7 separate regions of the Homo sapiens genome follow, and regions 2, 3, 4, 5, 6 and 7 are each linked to region 1. The links are contacts of gene promoters, found by promoter capture Hi-C in blood cells and fetal thymus (Javierre and others, 2016). All regions are on one chromosome and are shown on one strand. Each heading gives the region's core, a stretch centred on a gene start or on the middle of the fragment in contact. The rest is flanking DNA. Distances are from core to core; before and after follow the strand shown.

What was found. Contacts are between HindIII fragments. The CHiCAGO score rates a contact against its expected background, and 5 or more counts as called.
Region 2: a contact is called between a fragment that was not itself captured here and the fragment with the promoter of CRTC3 in region 1, in 2 of 17 cell types (naive CD4 T cells and naive CD8 T cells). The highest score is 5.6, in naive CD4 T cells.
Region 3: a contact is called between a fragment that was not itself captured here and the fragment with the promoter of CRTC3 in region 1, in 2 of 17 cell types (naive B cells and total B cells). The highest score is 5.5, in naive B cells.
Region 4: a contact is called between a fragment that was not itself captured here and the fragment with the promoter of CRTC3 in region 1, in 3 of 17 cell types (total B cells, naive B cells and fetal thymus). The highest score is 6.9, in total B cells.
Region 5: a contact is called between a fragment that was not itself captured here and the fragment with the promoter of CRTC3 in region 1, in 3 of 17 cell types (total B cells, activated CD4 T cells and total CD8 T cells). The highest score is 8.0, in total B cells.
Region 6: a fragment that was not itself captured here is called in contact with the fragment with the promoter of CRTC3 in region 1 in 3 of 17 cell types (monocytes, activated CD4 T cells and total B cells); the score reaches 5.7 in monocytes.
Region 7: a fragment that was not itself captured here is called in contact with the fragment with the promoter of CRTC3 in region 1 in 1 of 17 cell types (total B cells); the score reaches 6.6 in total B cells.

Annotation. Positions count from the first base shown.
Region 1 is chr15:90,528,573-90,531,244 of GRCh38, reverse strand. CRTC3 (CREB regulated transcription coactivator 3) reads right to left here and starts at 1,322. Exons shown (of 15, transcript NM_022769.5): 1 at 1,042-1,322. The coding sequence starts at 1,173. RefSeq lists an enhancer at 219-378 and silencers at 769-948, 969-1,718, 1,819-1,868. The HindIII fragment of the contact is 15,096 bases long and covers 1-2,672 here.
Region 2 is chr15:90,926,380-90,929,051 of GRCh38, reverse strand. No RefSeq gene overlaps it. Among named protein-coding and RNA genes, the nearest start is that of HDDC3, 4.8 kb to the left of the region's middle. The HindIII fragment of the contact is 3,766 bases long and covers 1-2,672 here.
Region 3 is chr15:90,144,395-90,147,066 of GRCh38, reverse strand. No RefSeq gene overlaps it. Among named protein-coding and RNA genes, the nearest start is that of IDH2, 43 kb to the right of the region's middle. The HindIII fragment of the contact is 7,167 bases long and covers 1-2,672 here.
Region 4 is chr15:90,859,125-90,861,796 of GRCh38, reverse strand. No RefSeq gene overlaps it. Among named protein-coding and RNA genes, the nearest start is that of FURIN, 8.1 kb to the left of the region's middle. The HindIII fragment of the contact is 1,096 bases long and covers 792-1,887 here.
Region 5 is chr15:90,837,840-90,840,511 of GRCh38, reverse strand. It overlaps LOC105370969 (a long non-coding RNA gene), which reads right to left and starts at 786. Exons shown (of 3, transcript XR_932610.3): 1 at 612-786. RefSeq lists an enhancer at 1-173. The HindIII fragment of the contact is 3,277 bases long and covers 1-2,672 here.
Region 6 is chr15:90,809,401-90,812,072 of GRCh38, reverse strand. BLM (BLM RecQ like helicase) reads right to left here. Exons shown (of 22, transcript NM_000057.4): 21 at 667-868. Among named protein-coding and RNA genes, the nearest start is that of FURIN, 58 kb to the left of the region's middle. The HindIII fragment of the contact is 4,622 bases long and covers 1-2,672 here.
Region 7 is chr15:90,789,017-90,791,688 of GRCh38, reverse strand. It overlaps BLM (BLM RecQ like helicase), which reads right to left. Exons shown (of 22, transcript NM_000057.4): 15 at 845-1,040. Among named protein-coding and RNA genes, the nearest start is that of BLM, 73 kb to the right of the region's middle. The HindIII fragment of the contact is 551 bases long and covers 1,061-1,611 here.

The DNA.
Region 1 (2,672 bases), core at 73-2,572:
TAATACGGAAATTTGGATTTTGTGTGGAAGTCTTCCAATTTAAAAATTCTGGCAACAGATTCAATAATTTTTCCCAAACACTGCGCTGGCCAAAAAATAATGTGTCTGCAACTCAGCTGGTTTGCAACTCTGCTCTCAGCTCTCCTTCAAACTGTCTCCCCCGCCTCAGTCCCCCAGAATCTGCAGATCCTCCCCCATCCTCCCGATGGTCCTCCAAGGTCAGCATTCAGGATCCTCAAGGCCAGCCCCACTCCTGCTGACCCCCCTTCTCTGCAACCCTGCGCGGACACTCCGGTTGGCTCTCCATCCTCCACTGCCTCACTCAGCGGTTACCTAACCTCTCCAGGTGTTTGTCCCGGCTCGCGCCTTACTCATTCCTCCAGGTCCCTCTCCAGTCACCAGCGACGCTTGTCAGTTCTCACTAAATATCCCGGGCCGAACAAAGTAAACTGGACCCGATAAAGCACCTCCAAGGAGTAAAAGGAGCAGAGCCTCACACTCGACACGGAATCCCGTCGTGGTTCCAACAACCCGAGCCACCCCAGGGCCGGGCCCTGGATGGACTTGTGCACAGAGCTCCCCCCACGAGCGCGTGGGACCCTGGGGTGCCCGCGGCCTTCCACGCCGGCAGAACAGCAGGGCTCGATGGTGGGGGATGTTCGGAGCGACCAGAAGCCGCGCCGCGCCACCCGGCCGGCCTCCGAGCTGTTTGCGATTTCCTCTCGGGGCTCCTCGTCCTCCTCCCCCTCAGGCCGCCCTCGCACGGCCGCCCGCCTCCACGGGCTTCACCCCTGCCCATCTTCCCGCACACGGGGCCGGGCGACCCTCCCACCTCAGCCCGGGATCGCGAACGGCTAGCGGGTGTCGCCAGGCGGGGAAACGCCGAGGCCGCGGCCGCTCCGGTCCCCCTCCCAGCCGCCGGTTCCCGGGCGCGGCCCCCGCCCGGCCCCGCCATCGCCTTGGCCCCGCAACCTCTCACCCGCCGCGCGGGTCCCGCCCGCGGCCGTGGCCGCCCCCGCCCGCGCCGGCCCGGGCCCTCACCCGCGACAGGGTGAGGTCGGTCATGAGCTGCTCGAAGGCCCGCGTCTCCTCGGCCTGTCTCTGCGTGTGCAGCGCGATCTTCTCACTGAACTTCCGCGGGTTGGCGCTGCCCGAGCCCGGCGAGGCGGCCATGGCGCGGACTCTGCGCGGGCAGAAGCGGGAGACGGCGGCCGTGGGGCCTGTACCTCGGCCCACCCGTCCGTCCACAGGCCGCCGGGGCCGCCGCCCGAAGCCAGTCGTCCGGCGCGACCCGGCAGAGGAGCCGCCGCGGCCCCGGAGCCAGCGAGCGGCCGGGAGCGCGCCGAGGTCCGCCCCCGTGCGCCCGGCCCCGCCCCACCCTCGGCGGGGCCCGCCCGGCCTCCAGTCTGCCCCGGCCCCACGCTCGCGGGCTGAGGGCTGCTCCCCGCTTCCCGGTCTGGCTCGGGACCCGCCGCCGGCGGCCACCTGGAGGGACCCCCGTCAGCCCGACAAAGTGGCCCCGGCGTACGGGGAACGCTGGGGTGCCACTCCACGGAGACTCTCCGACCCAGGGATGGCCTCTGCGTCTACGCGACGTGGAGAACACAGCCTGTGCCCGCATCCCCCCTCCCCCAGCCAAATTACGAAGATTTTCTTCTCCAGGTGGAACCTGGGCGACCGGACCTCGAGCAGGTCACCTCGGGCCCCCGCAGGGGGTGCGCCCATTTTGCCTGGGGCCTAACGTCTGCCCGCCAGCCCTGCCGCTCCAGGCCCCCGGCCTCCAGCCGCTGGTTTCCTGACCTCTCACACCCACCCCTCCCCGCTCCAGTCAACCAGAGCTGTATCTCGGCTTTAAAAACTGCCTCCTATTCTGCACAAACTACAAACACCATCCAGCCCTGCTGCAGCCTTGGCTCCATAGCCCCGGCCCCCTTTCCAGGTTCTTTCCAAGTCTCCCTACGGCCTCTCCACTCCTGTGGCAGCTTCAGCAGGTGCCAGCCCCACCTTGGGAAACCAGCGCTCAGCCTCAGCGAATTTCCCCTTCTTTTGGGGGAGTGAATGGATGTCTTTCTCTGTCGCCCGGTCTGGAGTGTAGTGGTGCGATCTCGACTCACCGCGGCCTTGACCTCCCGGGCTCAAAAGATCCTCCCACCTCAGCCTCCCGACCAGCTGGGACCACAGGCGGGGGTCACCACGCCCGGCTAGTTTGTAAATGTTTTTGTAGCAATGGGGGGCGGGGGTGGGTCTCGCTATTTTGCCCAGGCTGGTCTCGAACGCCTGGGCTCAAGCGATCTGCCCACCTCAGCCTCCCAAAGTGCTGGGATAACAGGCGTGGGCCACAGTGCCCGGGGAGTTTCCTCTTTGGAGTCCAGAAGCTACTCTCAGCATAAATGTTGATGTGCACAAAGATGTCCCGGGGAGCCCTGAGCGTGTGTCAGTGTTCTGTAAAGAGGGAAATATTAGAGGCCTACGGAAGAGTACGGAAAATAATATTAATACTACCCACGCCCCCCACTATCAAGATTAAACAGACATCAATACATTTTGCTGCATGTACTTGGGATTTATTAAAGACATACAAAATTAGTCATAACGACGGCCCCACTCTCATTTCTTCTTCCGCCCCACAGATAGTCACCGTGCTCAAGTTGGTACATATCATTCCAGTTTGT
Region 2 (2,672 bases), core at 78-2,577, 400 kb before region 1:
ATGTATGGTTTTGCTTGTGGATGTCCAGTTTTCCTAGCACCATTTGATGCAAGGTCTGTCCTCTTAGTACCTGTTTTTGGATTTTTTTATTTTTTATTTTTTAGTAGAGATGGCGTTCCACTAAGTTGGCCACACTGGTCTCGAACTCCTGACCTCAGGTGATCTGCCCACCTCAGCCTCCCAAAGTGCTGGGATTACAGGCGTGAGCCACTGTGCCCAGCCTTGAATAACTCTTCACAATATTGCTTTCTAGAATTTTAGTTCCTGCCTCTTTTTAAACTATAAACTAGTATTACATTTATAGCCAGTATTTAGGTGTACCCTCCCTCTCATTAGTTTATGCCCCTAGACAAATTCTCTTTTTGCTTAAGTACACCTACTTTCTTCCACTAAAGTTTTGTACATTGCAAACTGTTGAGTCTTTGCATGTCTGAAAATGTCTTCATTTCCCCCGTGCTCTTGAATGGTGTAGCTGATAGCAAATTCAAGGCTGAGTTTTCTCTAGGTTTGAATGGACTCCAGGTGTCTACTGTAGCTAACTAGATGTCTGCTATCACTGTGATTGTCTTTCCTTTGTAAGACTTTTCTATTTTTTTTTTTTTGAACAGCATCTCCAATTTGCATTCATAAAATTATTAATCCAAATTGCGAAAGTAGACTTTTACAGAGTCACAGGTCAGTAACAAAACAGGAAATGAAATGTTCCAGAGCCTTTTTTTTTTTTTAAGATGGATTCTCGCTCTGTCACCCAGGCTGGAGTACAGTGGCGCAATCTCGGCTCACTGCAACCTCTGCCTCCTGGGTTCAAGCGATTCTTATGCCACAGCCTCCCTAGTAGCTGGGATTACAGATGTGTGCCACCACGCCCGGCTAATTTTTGTATTTCTAGTAGAGACAGGGTTTCACCATGCTGGCCAGGCTGGTCTCAAACTCCTGACCTCAAGTTATCCGCCTGCCTTGGCCTCCCAAAGTGCTGGGATTACAGGCATGAAGCCATCGTGCCCGGCCTCCAGAGACATTTTGATAAGTTCCAAAGAAACACACTAGGCAGGCTGGGTGCAGAGGCTCACGCCTGTAATCCCAGCAATTTGGGAGGCCCAGGCGGGTGGATCACGAAGTCAGGAGATCGAGACCATCCTGGCTAACATGGTGAAACCCCGTCTCTACTAAAAATACAAAAAAATTAGCCGGGCATGGTGGCGGGCACCTGTAGTCCCAGCTACTCGGGAGGCTGAGGCAGGAGAATCACTTGAACCCAGGAGGCGGAGGTTGCAGTGAGCCAAGGTCATGCCACTGCACTCCAGCCTGGGAGACAGAGCAAGACTCCGTCTCAAAAAAAAAAAAAAAAAAAAAGGCCAGTGTGGTGGCTCACGCCTGTAATCCCAACACTTTGGGAGGCCGAGGCGGGTGGATCATGAGGTCAGGAGATCAAGACCATCCTGGCTAACACGGTGAAACCCTGTCTCTACTAAAACTACAAAAAATTAGCCAGGCGTGGTGGCGGGCGCCTTTAGTCCCAGCTACTTGGGAGGCTGAGGCAGGAGAATCACTTGAACCTGGGAGGCAGAGGTTGCAGTGAGCCGAGATCACGCCACTGCACTCCAGCTTGGGCGACAGAGCTAGACTCCGTCTCAAAAAAAAAAAAAAAAAAAAAAAAGCTAGGCTAAAAATCTACAGTTAAACCATGGTTGTACAACAGGTTATATTCATTCCTGCAGTTTCTCAATAAGTTCTTATATTTGCCTTTCTCTTTTGAGAGTGAATCCCACTCACTCTATTGCCAAGGCTGGAGTGCAGTGGCATGATCTCAGCTAACTGCAACCTCCACCTCCCTGGTTTAAGCTATTCTTCTGCCTCAGCCTCCTGAGTAGCTTTGACTACAGGCGCATGCCACCAGCCCAGCTAATTTTTGTATTTTTAGTACAGACAGGGTTTTGCCATGTGGGCCAGGCCGATCTCAAACTCCTGACCTCAGGTGATCCACCCACCTTGGCCTCCCAAAGTGCTGGAATTACAGGCGTGAGCCACCGTGCCTGGCCTTTAGGTTTTATCTTACGTAATTTGCAATATATCTACACGAGGTTTTTTAAATTGTTTTAATTTTTTTGAGACGGAGTCGTGCTCTGTCGCTCAGGATGAAGTGCAGTGGCATGATCTTGGCTATTTGCAACCTCCATCTCCCAGGTTCAAGCGATTCTTCTGCCTCAGCCTTCCAAGTAGCTGGGATTACAGGCTATAGGCACACACCAGCATGCCCCGCTACATTTTGATTTTTCTGGTTTTTGGGTTTTTTTGTATTTTTAGTAGAGACAGGGTTTCACCACGTTGGCCAGGCTAGTCTCAAACTCCTGACCTCAAGTGATCTGCCCACGTTGGCCTCCCAAAGTACTGGGATTATAGACATGAGCCACTGCACCTGGCCTGTTTATTTATTTATTTGTTTGTTTGTTGTTGTTGTTGTTGTTTTGAGACGGAGTCTCACTCTGTCGCCCAGGCTGGAGTGCAGTGGCGCGATCTCGGCTCACTAAAACCTCTGCCTCCGGGTTCATGCCATTCTCCTGCCTCAGCCTCCCAAGTAGCTGAGACTACAGGCGCCCGCCACCATGCCCGGCTAATTTTTTGTACTTTTAGTAGAGACAAGGTTTCACCATGTTAGCCAGGATGGTCTCGAT
Region 3 (2,672 bases), core at 67-2,566, 380 kb after region 1:
TTACTTTTAAAAATGCAGCTACTAGAGTTTTTAAAACTACGCTCTTTTCTGCCATGGTGAAAAGTAAATTAATAAATTAAAAAACAACTACTAGGCCAGGCGCAGTGGCTCACGCCTGTAATCCTAGCACTTTGGGAGGCCGAGGCGGGCGGATCACCTGAGGTCTGGAGTTTGAGACCAGCCTGACCAACATGGAGAAACCCCATCTCCACTAAAAATACAAAATTAGCCGGGCATGGTGGCACATGCCTGTAATCCCAGCTACTCGGGAGGCTGAGGCAGGAGAGTCACTTGAACCCGGGAGGCGGAGGTTGCGGTGAGCCAAGATCACACTATTGCACTCCAGCCTGGGCAACAAGAGTGAAACTCCATCTCAAAAAAAACCCAAAAACAAACATTAACAACAACAACAAAACTACCTATGTGGCTTGCATTATGTGTTTATTGGACAGCAGCTGCTTAGAACAAGCCTGGTGTGGAGTAAGTCAGTGTAATTGTTAGCTGCTGTCAGTGTTCAGTGCCTGACACGTGGTAAGGGCTTATTGAAGAGCAGTTTTTTGGTTTTTGTTTTGTTTTGAAATGGAGTCTAGTTCTTTCACCCAGGCTGGAGTGCGGTGGTGCGATCTCAGCTCACTGCAACCTCCGCCTCCCAGGTTCAAGTGATTCTCATGCCTCAGCCTCCTGAGTAGCTGGGATTACAGGTGCTCCCCACCATGCCTGGCTAATTTTTGTATTTTTAGTAGAGACCGGGTTTCACCATGTTGGCCAGGCTGGTCTCAAACTACTGAACTCAGGCAATCTGCCTGCCTTAAACTCCCAAAGTGCTAGGATTATGAGCATGAGCAACCATGCCTGGCCTGTTTTTTTTTTTTTTCTTTTTTTGTGACAGGGTCTCACTTTGTCGTCCAGGCTGAATGAGTGTAGTGGTGTGATGTCAGCTCACTGCAGCCTAGATGTTCTGGGCTCACACAGTCCTCTCACCTCAGCCTTCTGAATAGCTCTGACTATAGGCATACACCACCATGTCCTGCTAAGTTTTCTACTTTTTTAGAGACGGGGTCTTGCTATGTTGCCCAGGCTGGTCGCAAACTCCTAGGCTCAAGCGATCCTCCTGCCTCAACTTCCCAAAGTGTTGGGATTACAGGTGGAGAGCCACTGTGCCTGGCCTTGAATGGCAGTTTTGAAGACTTCTCTCCATCCCCTCTCTTGCCTCTCTGCCTTGGCAATCCAACCTGGAAAGCATTGTCTGTTTCCTTCCCAGCTTGTCCTATTCACCGGCAGTGAGAGCCCTGTCTTTCCTTTGATCCTCCCAACTCCCAGTGCCTCTCCAGGGGTGCTGAGCCCCCCAGTGGATTTCCATGCTGGTGGGACTTTCTGGGTGTCCAGTTTCCCATCACCTCCCCTCTCCCACCAGCTCTGGGCCCGAGTACCTCTGCGTTCCCCCGGAGTCCACCCACCTGGGGTGTTGTGATCACTCTTTGCCATCGTCACTCTCGGGTTTTCTCCTTAGGCCCTGCTCTTCTGAGGCTTGATCTGTGATGCCGGGAGAGGTGGGACGCTGCCAGAAGGGGCTACTGGCAGGCTGCCAAGAGGCTGCCCACAGAGGCCTTTGCCCTGACAAATTCACCCCTGGGGCCCTGGGTCTGCCCTCCGCCTGGCAGCTGGTGGAGAGGAGAGCCAGGTCCCAGCTGTGGACTCAGACTAATCAATTGCTCAGGAGGCCAATATATACACCAGGTGGTAAGTTTCCAATGCATTTAGCAGGGTGAGACCGGTTTTTGTTTAGGAAAATATCTTGATAGCCACTTTTGTTGAGGAAGGGGAGGTGCTAAGGACATAGTTGAAGGAAGATGTTTAAACACAGGAGGAATCAAACGGCTTTACAGAGAACGTTAACCGGAACTTGGGGGCGAGGGACCCCAAAAGAGAAGAAGAAATGGAAAGATGGTCATAGAAATGAAGGGTGAAGGAGGGAGGAGGGAGGGAGAAAACAAAATGGCAAGGGCAGAGCCTGGGAGGTATGTGTCCACTGAGAATTTCACAGTGGCGGGGAGACCAAAGGGCTTTTTTTTTTTTTTTGAGACTCTTGTTGCCCAGGCTGGAGTGCAATGGCGTGATCTCAGCTCACTGCAACCTCCGCCTCTGGGTTCAAGTGATTCTCCTACCTCAGCCTCCCGAGTAGCTCGGATTACGGGCATGTGCTGCCACACCCAGCTAATTTTGTATTTTTAGTAAGATGGAGTTTCTCGATGTTGGTCATGTTGGTCTTGAACTCCCAACCTCAGGTGATCCGCCCGCCTCAGCCTCCCAAAGTGTTGGGATCACAGGAGTGAGCCACTGCACCCAGCCTCGAAGGACTTTTTTTTTTTCTTTTCTTTTTTTTTTTTTGGTGATGGAGTCTTGCTCTGTGGCCCAGGCTGGAGTACAGTGGTGCGATCTCAGCTCACTACAGCTTCTGCCTCCCAGGTTCAAGCAATTCTCCTGCCTCAGCCTCCTGAGTAGCTGGGACTACGGGCGCATGCCACCACCCCCGGCTAATTCTTTAATTTTTAGTAAAGACGGGGTTTCACCATGTTGGCCAGGCTGGTCTCGAACTCTTGTCCTTGTGATCTGCCTGTCTTGGCCTCCCAAAGTGTTGGGATTACAGGCATGAGCCACCATGCCAGACCTCA
Region 4 (2,672 bases), core at 90-2,589, 330 kb before region 1:
ACTCCCCTTTTTAATCAAAAGGCAGCATACTACAATTTCTTTTTTACTTAGCAGTACATCTACATCGGAGAAACGTACCTAGTAAATATAAACAAAACTGCAAACCCAATAAAATTTAAAGTAACAATATCTGTTTAATGAGAAGGATGATGTTGTTTGCCTGAAACCACATTGCTACTTTTAGCGATATGGGACTGACCACTCAGAGCGGATCTGCTTTTGAGCTTGACATGTATACAGATGCTGCCATGCTCTGGGGAATGACTCAATTCTCCCCAACCTTTCTCTATTTGAATTACTGCAATACTTTTGTTTGCACAGCGGGCTGTTACATCATTTGGCCTTCACTTGGCTTCAACGCATCATTTACGCATTAAATCCGCCTCTGTTCTTTTCTTGTTAGCCAGCAGCAATTAAACAGGACTACTCGATGCCAGCACAATCATAAACACAAATGCAAACTTGGGCAGTGAAATCCTGTGTCAACAATAAATTGTAAGGTGGTCAAGCCGACGATGATGCGAATGAAAATAATCGTAATGGCCAACTTGCTATGCGCTGGCACCATGCTAAATGTTTTAAGTGCAAGGTTTTATTTAATTCTCCCAGCAACTCTATAATAAAATAAGCACTACCCATTTCACAGATAAGAACATTTAGTCTTAGCGGGATTAAATAACTTGCTCAAGGTCACATGTATCGGAAGTGGTAGAGGCAGCATTTGAACCCATGTCTGTCTGACCCCAGGGATCAGTAAGGGTTTGTGATGGGAGCATGGACCTCACTAAGCTTTTTGCCATCAGTTCCTGGCCATAATTGCCCACCTTGGCCAGGCCTGCTGGGCTGGGCAAGGAAGGTATGTGGAGCCTGGGGCAGAGAGTGGAAAGGGAGTGTGGTGGTCACAGTCCCTGTTGAGACCTGGACTCCTAAGGGCCCCTCTCCCTGAAGTCCTGGGAGAAATTGCACCAAACCTGGCCTTATGACCCTGATTCCTCTCACCCAATATCAAAGTGAATAAATACACACACGCCAAAAATACCACTTGGAAGATAACGATCTATGTCCAGGACTGTAACAATGCCACTCTGTCAGGTCTTGGCGAAGGACTAAGAGTTCCGCATGTTCCTGCGGTGTCCCTGGCTGGTCACCCTAGGCTGGAGCTGGGCAGTGTTCAAGATGAAAGCACAGGGCCAGGCATGGTGGCTTCTGCCTGTAATCCCTGTGCTTTGGGAGGCCGAAGCAGGAGGATGACTTGAGGTCAGGATTTCAAAACCAGCCTGGGCAAGAAAGCATGATAATGACTCCTCTATAAAAAATTTTTTTAAAAAGATGAAAGCACATGCCGGGCGCGGTGGCTCACACCTGTAATCCCAGCACTACAGGAGGCCGAGGCAGGCAGATCACCTGAGGTCAGGAGTTGGAGACCAGCCTGGCCAACACGGCAAAACCCCGTCTCCACTAAAAATACAAAAATTAGCCTGGCGTGATGGCATGTGCCTGTGATCCCAGCTACTCGGGAGGCTGAGGCAGGTGAATCACTTGAACCCAGGAGGCGGAGGTTGCAGTGAGCTGAGATGGAGCCACTGCACTCCAGTCTGGGCAAGAGAGTGAGACTCCATCTCAAAAAAAATAAAAATAAAAAAAAAGAAAAGATGAAAGTGCAGACTTGTGGCCAGTATCTCCCTCTGGCCTTTCACCCTCCTCCCATCCTGTCCTGTCTTACTTCATCTCCCACTTCCTCTCCTGTCACTGCCGTTTGTTCTTTCCCTGTCCTGGGCCTGTCGTTAATCCCCGTTGGAGCTGGAATCTGCAGCTCCAACTTTGTTTAATGAGAAGGGTGAGATAGGGCGGCCAGGAAGGCCTGGAGTCAGAGGCTCAGCCCAAGCTTAGTTACCAAGTCATGGAACAGGTCTGAGCTTCCCATACTGCTGGGGCAACAGATGTGTTAAGTGTACCAGCCCCAAAACGATGACCCGGGGTGTCCTGTGGGGACCTGGCTGCCACCCTCCTTAACAACAGCTCCAGGGTGGGAGTCTGGCCCTCAAAGATCAGGGCAGCTGAGGCCAACCAGGCTCCTGGGGACTGACTCACACTAAGGCATTTACACAACAAATGCCCAAACCCTCTCTAATGCACAGGTACTTCCAGGCCTGCCAAAGCCCCTGTCTTGGTAAGGGTCCCCAGAGAAGGTACACAGAGACCCAAGCCAGCAGCCAGGGATGGTGCCATTGCATCTCTGCACCCACTTCCTCAGATCCAGGCCTGAGAACACAAGCACCCTTCCTCCTCCCCACCAGGACCAGATAGCCCAGCACTTTCCGGTAAGCCTCTTGCCCCACATAGTAATTTGGTTTCAGTTTTCCTAGATCAATACAATTGATTGTGAAAACCCAGTTCCCCTGTCCGTTTGGCTCTAGGTGCCAGGAACTGTTAGAGCTCCAGCTGTGTGCTGCCATCATGCGGCTCCCAGGATGGCCTTCACTTGGCTCCCTATGATTGGATTTGGGTATTCGCAATCTTTTTATCTGGGTTTCAGCTTCTACTAGAATTCAACCCTTCCCTATTACAAAAAAAAAAAATCTAGTTTCTTACATTATGAAAGACATTTCTTTTTTTTTTTTTTTTTTTTTTTTGAGACGGAATCTCGCTCTGTCGCCCAGGCTGGAGTGCAG
Region 5 (2,672 bases), core at 61-2,560, 310 kb before region 1:
CACACCTGTAATTCCAGCACTTTGGGAGGCCAAGGTGGGTGGATCACCTGAGGTCAGGAGTTTGAGACTTGCCTGGCCAACATGTGAAGCCGTCTCTACTAAAAATACAAAAATTAGTCGGGCATGGTGGTGCACGCCTATAATCGCAACTACTCAGGAGGCTGAGGCAGGAGAATCATTTGAACCCAGGAGGTGGAGGTTGCAGTGAGCCGAGATTGCGCCACTGCAATCTGGGCTGGGTAACGAGTGAGACTCCGTCTCAAACAAAAGAACAGGCCCTGCGTGGGTGCCTCAGCCAGGCACCACTTTGTTCCCTGAGGCCTAGCTCCCCGTGGATGTGGTGCTGTCAGGGGAGTTCGTTGGTGTAGGAGCACGGGGCATCTATGATGTGCCAGGCACTGTGCCGGGCACTGGGGAGACAACAGTGACCTGGGCACACCCTGCTCTCATGGAGCTCACGGCTAAGGAGACAATACAGTGTGGAGGGGGCTGGGCTGAGAGGAGGCGCCCAATGGGGCATGGGCACAGAGACGCCCCAGGGGACGTCCCTGCAGTGGGGGGAGGGGGGCACAGTGGTAAAGGGAAGGAAAATGGCCATCGCGTCACAGTACCTGTTGGGACCGGTTCTGAGCTCCCATCAGATCCTCTGGAGAACTCCTAGGAATGCAGGAGGTGGAGCTGAGGGGCAGAGGCCAGAGCTGGACTCCTTTCCCTGCACTGGATGGTCAGCGGGCCCTTTCCTGAACGCCAGGCCTCTTGCAGGGCCTACGTAGGGGCTCCTACTGCGGCTTCTTCCCTGGCAGAGCCCAGCAGGAGCTCCTCGGCTCCCCTAGCTCTGCTTCCTCTTTTGATTTGCATAACAATCTGCCCAGACGAGCTTTGTACCTCTGCATCAGGGCTGGAGCCCAGCGCTGTGCTCTGCCAAAGGAGGAAAAAAAAAAAAAAGCTCTTACAATAAGAAAGCCCGACGGACGGTGGTTCCTGGGCAGGCTTCCCAGGGAATCAGCTCTGGATGACCTGCTGGCTTTGGTGTGGGTTTGGGTCAGACCCAGGTGAGGGGCCCTCTTTGAATCTTCCCCCTCCTGGCATAAGGCCCAGAGTCCTGTTCGTGGGGCCTGCTGGAGCCTGGTGCCCAGAACATTTATCCTACACACACCCACATGCCAAGGGATGTAGGATAGTGTAGTCATCACAACACTGCTTGTCTTAGCAAAAGACTAGAAATAACCTGCATGTCCAACAGTAGGGGATTGGTGATTCTGGACGTCCATACAAAGAATGACCCCATAAAAAGAATGAGGTTTGGGGCTGGGTGCAGTGGCTCATGTCTGTAATCCCAGCACTTGGGGAAGCTGAGGCAGGCAGATCACCTGAGGTCAAGAGTTTGAGACCAGCCTGGCCAACACGGAGAAACCCCATCTCTACGAAAAATACAAAAATTAGCTGGGCGTGGTGGTGCATGCCTGTAATCCCAGCTACCTGGGAGGCTGAGGCAGGAGAATCGCTTGGACCCAGGAGGCGGAGGTTGCAGTGAGCCAAGATCATGCCACTGCACTCCAGCCTGGGTAACAAAGTGAGGCTCTGTCTCAAAAAAAGAACGAGGTTCCATGGGGTGTACTCACAAAGTGGGGGGTGGGGGCATCAGTTCTTGCACCCCCATGTGGGCACTTTGCCTATTCCATGCCCCTAGAGGCTGCAACAAATGCGTCAGCTGGGGATGCCCCAAACGCCCCAGGGACTCAGCGTCCCTGCTTTCCATGGCTCTAGTCCTTGCCTGGCACTGGGGCTGAGGAGTCCGCTGACGACAATGGGCCTGCCAGTCCCCGCTCCGTGGCCACGAGTGGCCCCTTCTGCACGCCCTGCCTCCGCTCCCTCATCTGTAAGATGGGGACAATCCACCGACCTTGTATGTGTGATGAGCCCCTGGCGTACAGAGCGGCTGTGCAATAAAGGTGATTCTGACCGAAGTTTGGCCCCGTGGGAACTGTAGGGTGGGGGAGCGTGCAGAGCAGGGAGAGCAGGAACACAGTCCCAGAGATGCCCTGATAGGTCTTCAGGGAGGAGCGGGGACTCCAGTGCTTGGGCCCTACCTGTCACCTGCTATGTGTGTGTTGGGGGCCTGAGCCGCCTTCACAGCAGACAGCGCTCTGGAGGGGAAGAGTTCACCTCACAATTTCCTGAGCTGGGGAGGAGGGTGCGTCAGGCAACACCGCGGTGACAGCCCCCGCCCTCGCCCCCGCCTGCTCCGAGATTTACCCAGCCCTGCTGGCAGCGGCGGGTGACCTCAGCTCACCCACCAGTCTCAGGAAGGGGTGAGGTTGTGCTGGGGGATTGCCCTGAAGCTGCTTTTGCTGCGGTGCCTAGAGGGTATGATTTGGGGGTGCTTTCGTAGGAGCTGGTGGAGTTGGTGTGGGGTGACACTTCCCAAGGCTCTGCAGGGGCAGGGGGGCCTGAGCTGAAAGAGAAGGGGGCTGAACCGGGCGCGGTGGCTCATGCCTGCAATCCCAGCACTTTGGGAGGCCGAGGCGGGCAGATCACCTGAGGTCAGGAGTTCAAGACCAGCCTGACCAACATGGTGAAACCCCATCTCTACTAAAAATACAAAAATTAGCCGGGCGTGGTGGCACATGCCTGTAGTCCTGGCTATTTGGGAGGCTGAGGCAGGAGAAGCG
Region 6 (2,672 bases), core at 95-2,594, 280 kb before region 1:
ATAGTATTGTAGGTGGAAAAGTCTCTTAAGAAGAACAATCATCCCAAACAGGCAAACAAATATCTAAGGGAAGATCAACATGGAAGACATCTTTGCAAACAAGAAACATTAGTCAGGCTGAGTGCGGTGGCTCACGTCTGTAATCCAGCACTTTGGGGAGACCAAAGTGGGCTGATCACTTGAGCTCAGGAGTTTGAGACCAGCCTGGGCAACATGGGGAAACTCCATCTGTACAAAAAATACAAAAATTAGCCAGGAGTGATGGTATACACCTGGAGTCCCAGCTACTCAGGAGGCTGAGGTGGGAGGATCACTTGAGTACAGGAGGCAGAGGTTGCAGTGAGCCGAGATTGTGCCACTGCACTCTAGCCTGGGCAACAGAGTCAGACTTTGTCCTCAAATTAAAAAAAGAAAGAAAACTTTAGTCATAACTATTAGTCAGTAGATGTTTTAAACATCTGAAGCAAATATTTTTTGTTGTTTCTTGAAGCAAATATTTTTGTTTTGGATCAAACCTTAATTGTCACTCCATTAACAACTGTCATTCCATTAGCAATATTTAATAATGGCTTATTTTAATAAATCCTTCAAAGCAAGGCAGAGCTGTTGCACTTTTGTCCTTTCTTCCCTTGTTCCCTATATTGAAAAAGATGTCACAAAACATACCCCTTTGCCTTGGAACCACTGGAAGCAGTTTTTCTCCTCTTAGACCTTTGGGAGGCTGGCATCTTTTTCCTCTTCCTTTCATTTCTGGTTTTACTTGCAAAGTAGTGGGAAGATACGGGTATTTCCTCGTCGAGCTCCTCAGCGGCACTTCTTCCGGGGCCTCTGCTGCTGGACAGGCTTATCCCTGGGGAACTGTCTTCAGCTACAAATGGAAAATGCAGATGTTTACAGGTGATGTCGCACTGGTCCACGTGTTTTTAGTGTATATGAAGAGACACGCTGCAGGGGCCCATTTTAGCAGATACCTAGCTGCTTCCCTGCCATATGGATTCAACAATTCAGCAAGAACCAAACCTTTTTTTACTGCACAAAGCCCCAAAGTGTTCAATGGCAATTCATTTTTAACAAAAGAGAATCAGAATTCATTAAAAAAATTTGTGATAGTCTTGAAGTTAACTAGAGACATGAGGTTTAGCTCATACTGTCGCATATGGCCTGTGTTCCTGTTGTTGATTGGGCAGTTAGTTCTGGTAGGCAATTCAAAAAGTATCAACTGCTATAAAGATGGCAGGCAATTTTACTTATTTTAAATGTGCTGAAAAAATCAGCTCAATATAAGGGAAACAAACGGTCCTGTATCTCATCTTTGAACAATAGTTTCTTAGTAAATGAACATAAGAAAATTCTAGATCCTATTTTACTCTTTACAGACAAAAAAACTTGTCTTTGCACAATATGGCTGAACATGTCACATATTATGCGGGAGGTGAGACCGCATGAAAGCACACATTTGCAAAGAAGATGGTAATTTCCATAAGTATTTGCATCCCAAGGCACCCAAAAAGCATGAAACCTCCCTATAGATAGCTCACACGGGGACCCAGTCTCCATTTCCTGGCTGGTCTGCCTTGTCCTACAGGCCACCCTACAGGAGCAGCATGGAGGGCACAGGACTCCACCATGGCTGCTCCAACCCTGGCTCACTGTCAAAATGTATTCGGAACAAGGCTTTTAATGGACTAATTACCATATAGAAGAATTTAGGAGAACCTGACCAGGTGTGGTGGCTCATGCCTGTAACCCCAGCACTTCAGGAGGCTGAGGCAGGTGGATCACTTGAGGTCGTAAGTTCAAGACCAGCCTGGCCAACATAGTGAAACCCCAACTCTACCAAAAAAATACAAAAATAAGTCAGGTGTGGTGGTGCATGCCTGTAGTCTCAGCTACTGGGGAGGCTGAGGTGGGATAATTGCTTGAATCTGGGAGGCATAGTGAGCCAAGATTGTGCCACTGAACTCCAGCCTGGAGTGAGACTCTGTCAAAAAAAAAAAAAGCGACTAGGTAAAGAGAGAACTTGAACTATCTCATCCTGCTCATCATTTCCATCATCCTTGGGAAGACCCCCACACTGCCTGTCTGGAAGCAGGAAGAACACTGAACCGGGCCTGTCTGTTGTGTCCTATTACGTGGTGATGTTATCAGAGGGCAGAAGACTTCTGTGCTCTCAATATTTCCTACAACAAAATGCTTTGTTGTTCTCATTTCCCCCAGGTCAATGATTTCTAAAGCTGTAATGATGATGAAGCTCATGATTAGAAGTGCCACAGGACAGGCCTAACGTGACTCCGGGAACGTCTGATAATGATGCACTCAGGCAGGTTCTATCAATGACTAACAATAATAACATTCTAGCTGCATGCTCATTTCTCCAAAACATTTAAACACTAGTCTTAAATTTTATCTTTAGACATGTTTGTCAGATAACATGTTCCTTCCTTGGTGGAGGAACCTGATTCACAAAGAGGCTATTGGTGGCCTGCTAGAGACCACACAGCATGACGTGGTGGCAGATCTGGAACTGGTACCCAGGGCTCTGATCCCTTGAGCACTTGCATTACGGGAACCAGCAACCCCTGGGCCCAAAGGTCCCCTTTTGGATCCTATGAGTAAGTTCAGAACTGGCACTCACAGGGGGCATAAGCACTAGTGTCCTCTCAGAGGTGACT
Region 7 (2,672 bases), core at 87-2,586, 260 kb before region 1:
GCAGCCTGGGTGACAGAGTGAGACTCGGTCTTGAAAAAAAAAAAATCTTATATAAGTAACTGCAAAAATGCCCAAAGATATTTGTATAGGGAGGGATGTTCAATACTGCATTGTTGATAACAGTGAAAAACAATAAACAAGATCTAGTAAGAGGGGATTAGTTTAATAACCATGGAATAACCATACTACGGAATTCTAGGTAGTCAGGCTGTATGTATTCATTGGAATGATAATTACATCCTACTGTTGACTGAAAAAAATCGGGTCATTATATATATAAAGTATGTATAATATAATCCCATTTACATTTTAAAATATGTGCATTTGGAAAAGGTACATACCAAATACAAGATATTTGCCTGCCTCTAATGGGAGAGGACGGATGAGACAAGAGAGGCTATGGGGTGGTGGGGAGGGGTTCAGCTCGATTGATTGTGTTTTATTTCTTAATCCAGATGGTAGTATATGACAGCTCATTATTTTCTCCTTTTTATCTTCCTGCATGTTTGAAATATGTGTTACATGCAAGAATGCATGCAGAAATAGGGTCTGAAAGGATACAAAGGAAACCAATAACTAGAGTTATTTTGGGGGCAAAACTACAAGGCATGGTTTGTAAATTTTCTGCCTTGTACACATCTGTATCATTTGAGTTTTACAAAATAAGCACTTACCACTTTTATAATAAAAATGAACTAAAATAAAATTGCCAATCTGTATAAACTCCTCTATTTTTCTACGATTATTTAAGGAAAACTGGACCAGAAGTACCACAATAGCAGGAGTAGACTACTATCATGAGGCTGAAGATGACAGAATGTCTCTACAATGGAGCCCAGCTTACTCATTATAAGTCTTTTCAGTCTGGTCACATCATGATAGGTATAGAAAAGCAGGCAGTGAGATATTTCCCCATCTCTTCCAGCTCTGCCAGATTCTTGGTAGTAACCCTCCACAGATTTAGGGAGAGATGCATGAATCACAAATCGCACGTCCGGTTTGTCAATCCCCATTCCAAATGCAATTGTAGCACAGATAACCTGATATAAAAGCAAAAGCTTATTAGATTCATAAGGCACAGACTTGAAGGAACATTTTCATAATAGATGCTTCTAAAAGCTCTATCATTTGTTTTACTTTAAAATGCACACTACATAACAACCTAATATCTTAACTTGGTCCAACTATTTAGTATAACTAATATGAGTTTTTATACTGATAACTTGCAATGCCATTAAAACCCAAGAAGGTAAAGAGAAGCTCAGCATGGCAGGCACTTTCTTGTATGACTTGGCATTCTCATGTAAGAGAGCCAGAATCAACTGCAGTCAGCCCACGATGTGCTGCCACTGTTCTCTGTTTTTGCTACTGAGGTGTGGGGGGTGTTGCTCACACAGTCATGATATCCAGGTCAGTGATCACAAGCAACGTGTTGCTCAGGAGCTCCAGGGTGTTCCCAGGGCTCCTCAGAGGTCACTGCTGCTAGTTCCTCCAATGGTTCAGGAACAATACGTTCTTACCTGCTCCACTGCTTATCATCAGTTTTCCCAATAGCACCAGCTGATCACACATCAACTCCTTCTATTCATCAGCTGATTTAAAGTCAAAGCTTGTACAATTTTAATGGAAACTCATGTGGGTAAAAGTCTGAGAGCTACTTATACCAAAAAAAAAAAAAAAAAAAAAAAAAAAAAAAAAAAACACCAGGGACTGCGGATCTTAGACCTTACAAATTACTTAGTGGAAGCAAGGTGATAGTTCACTCTCAGGAGCTTGATAAATCAGTTTTCAAGGATATCCATTTCAGTTGAGAATTTAGGAGCTATTTAACCCAGACCAAAATGTTATATCTCCAGGCAAAATTACACTTCACAAATAAAACTGCAAGTTTTTTTTTAGCACTTAAAAAAATGAATTGCTACTGCAAGAACAGTATTTCAAAGGCATCTGAAATATCTGGCAGGCAGACTGAGACTAATGACATGATTTCAGTAACTGTGAGTACCAGCGGAAGGAACTGCAAGCTCTGGAGTATGTGGACAGTAAAGGGGTACATTTATCAACACCAGGAATGGCGGTGAGTGGCCTGCGCTCTCGGTTAGTCATCCATCTACATTTATGGCACTCTGATCAAAGGCAAATCTCCTTGGAAACAGAAAGACTATTGTAGCTTCTAGTGATGGAGAGCAGGTGGAGAAGCTGCACAGCAAGATGTGTCAGCCGACAGGTCCGGAAGCATGACCCACAGGGTTCCATGAAGTCCAGGTGCATCTCCCAGTATCAGGGCGGGCACAGGGCTGTGAGGCACCGCCTGCAGCCTCCAGATGAGGATGCAAGGCTGCCAACTCTTTCTGAAAGCTCTTATTTCTTGAAATTGGGAAAAGTGGCTTTGTTTAATTGTGATTTCCTTCTTTATTTCTGCGCTTTTAAAACTTCAAGCCACAATCATTCTTTGTGAAGAATAATGGCCAAGTTTTATTCTATCTCATGAATCTAACGAGATCAAGTCTGTCGAGCTGGTGTAGGCTAATATTACATGCTGACTGTAAGGATTAATTAGTCTGAGAGCAGAAATAATTAGGTTTTTATAAACCCCTATTGTTTAACCATATTTTTTATCAAAGTTATATATATATATATATATATCTCCATTGTAGATTATTTATACTATA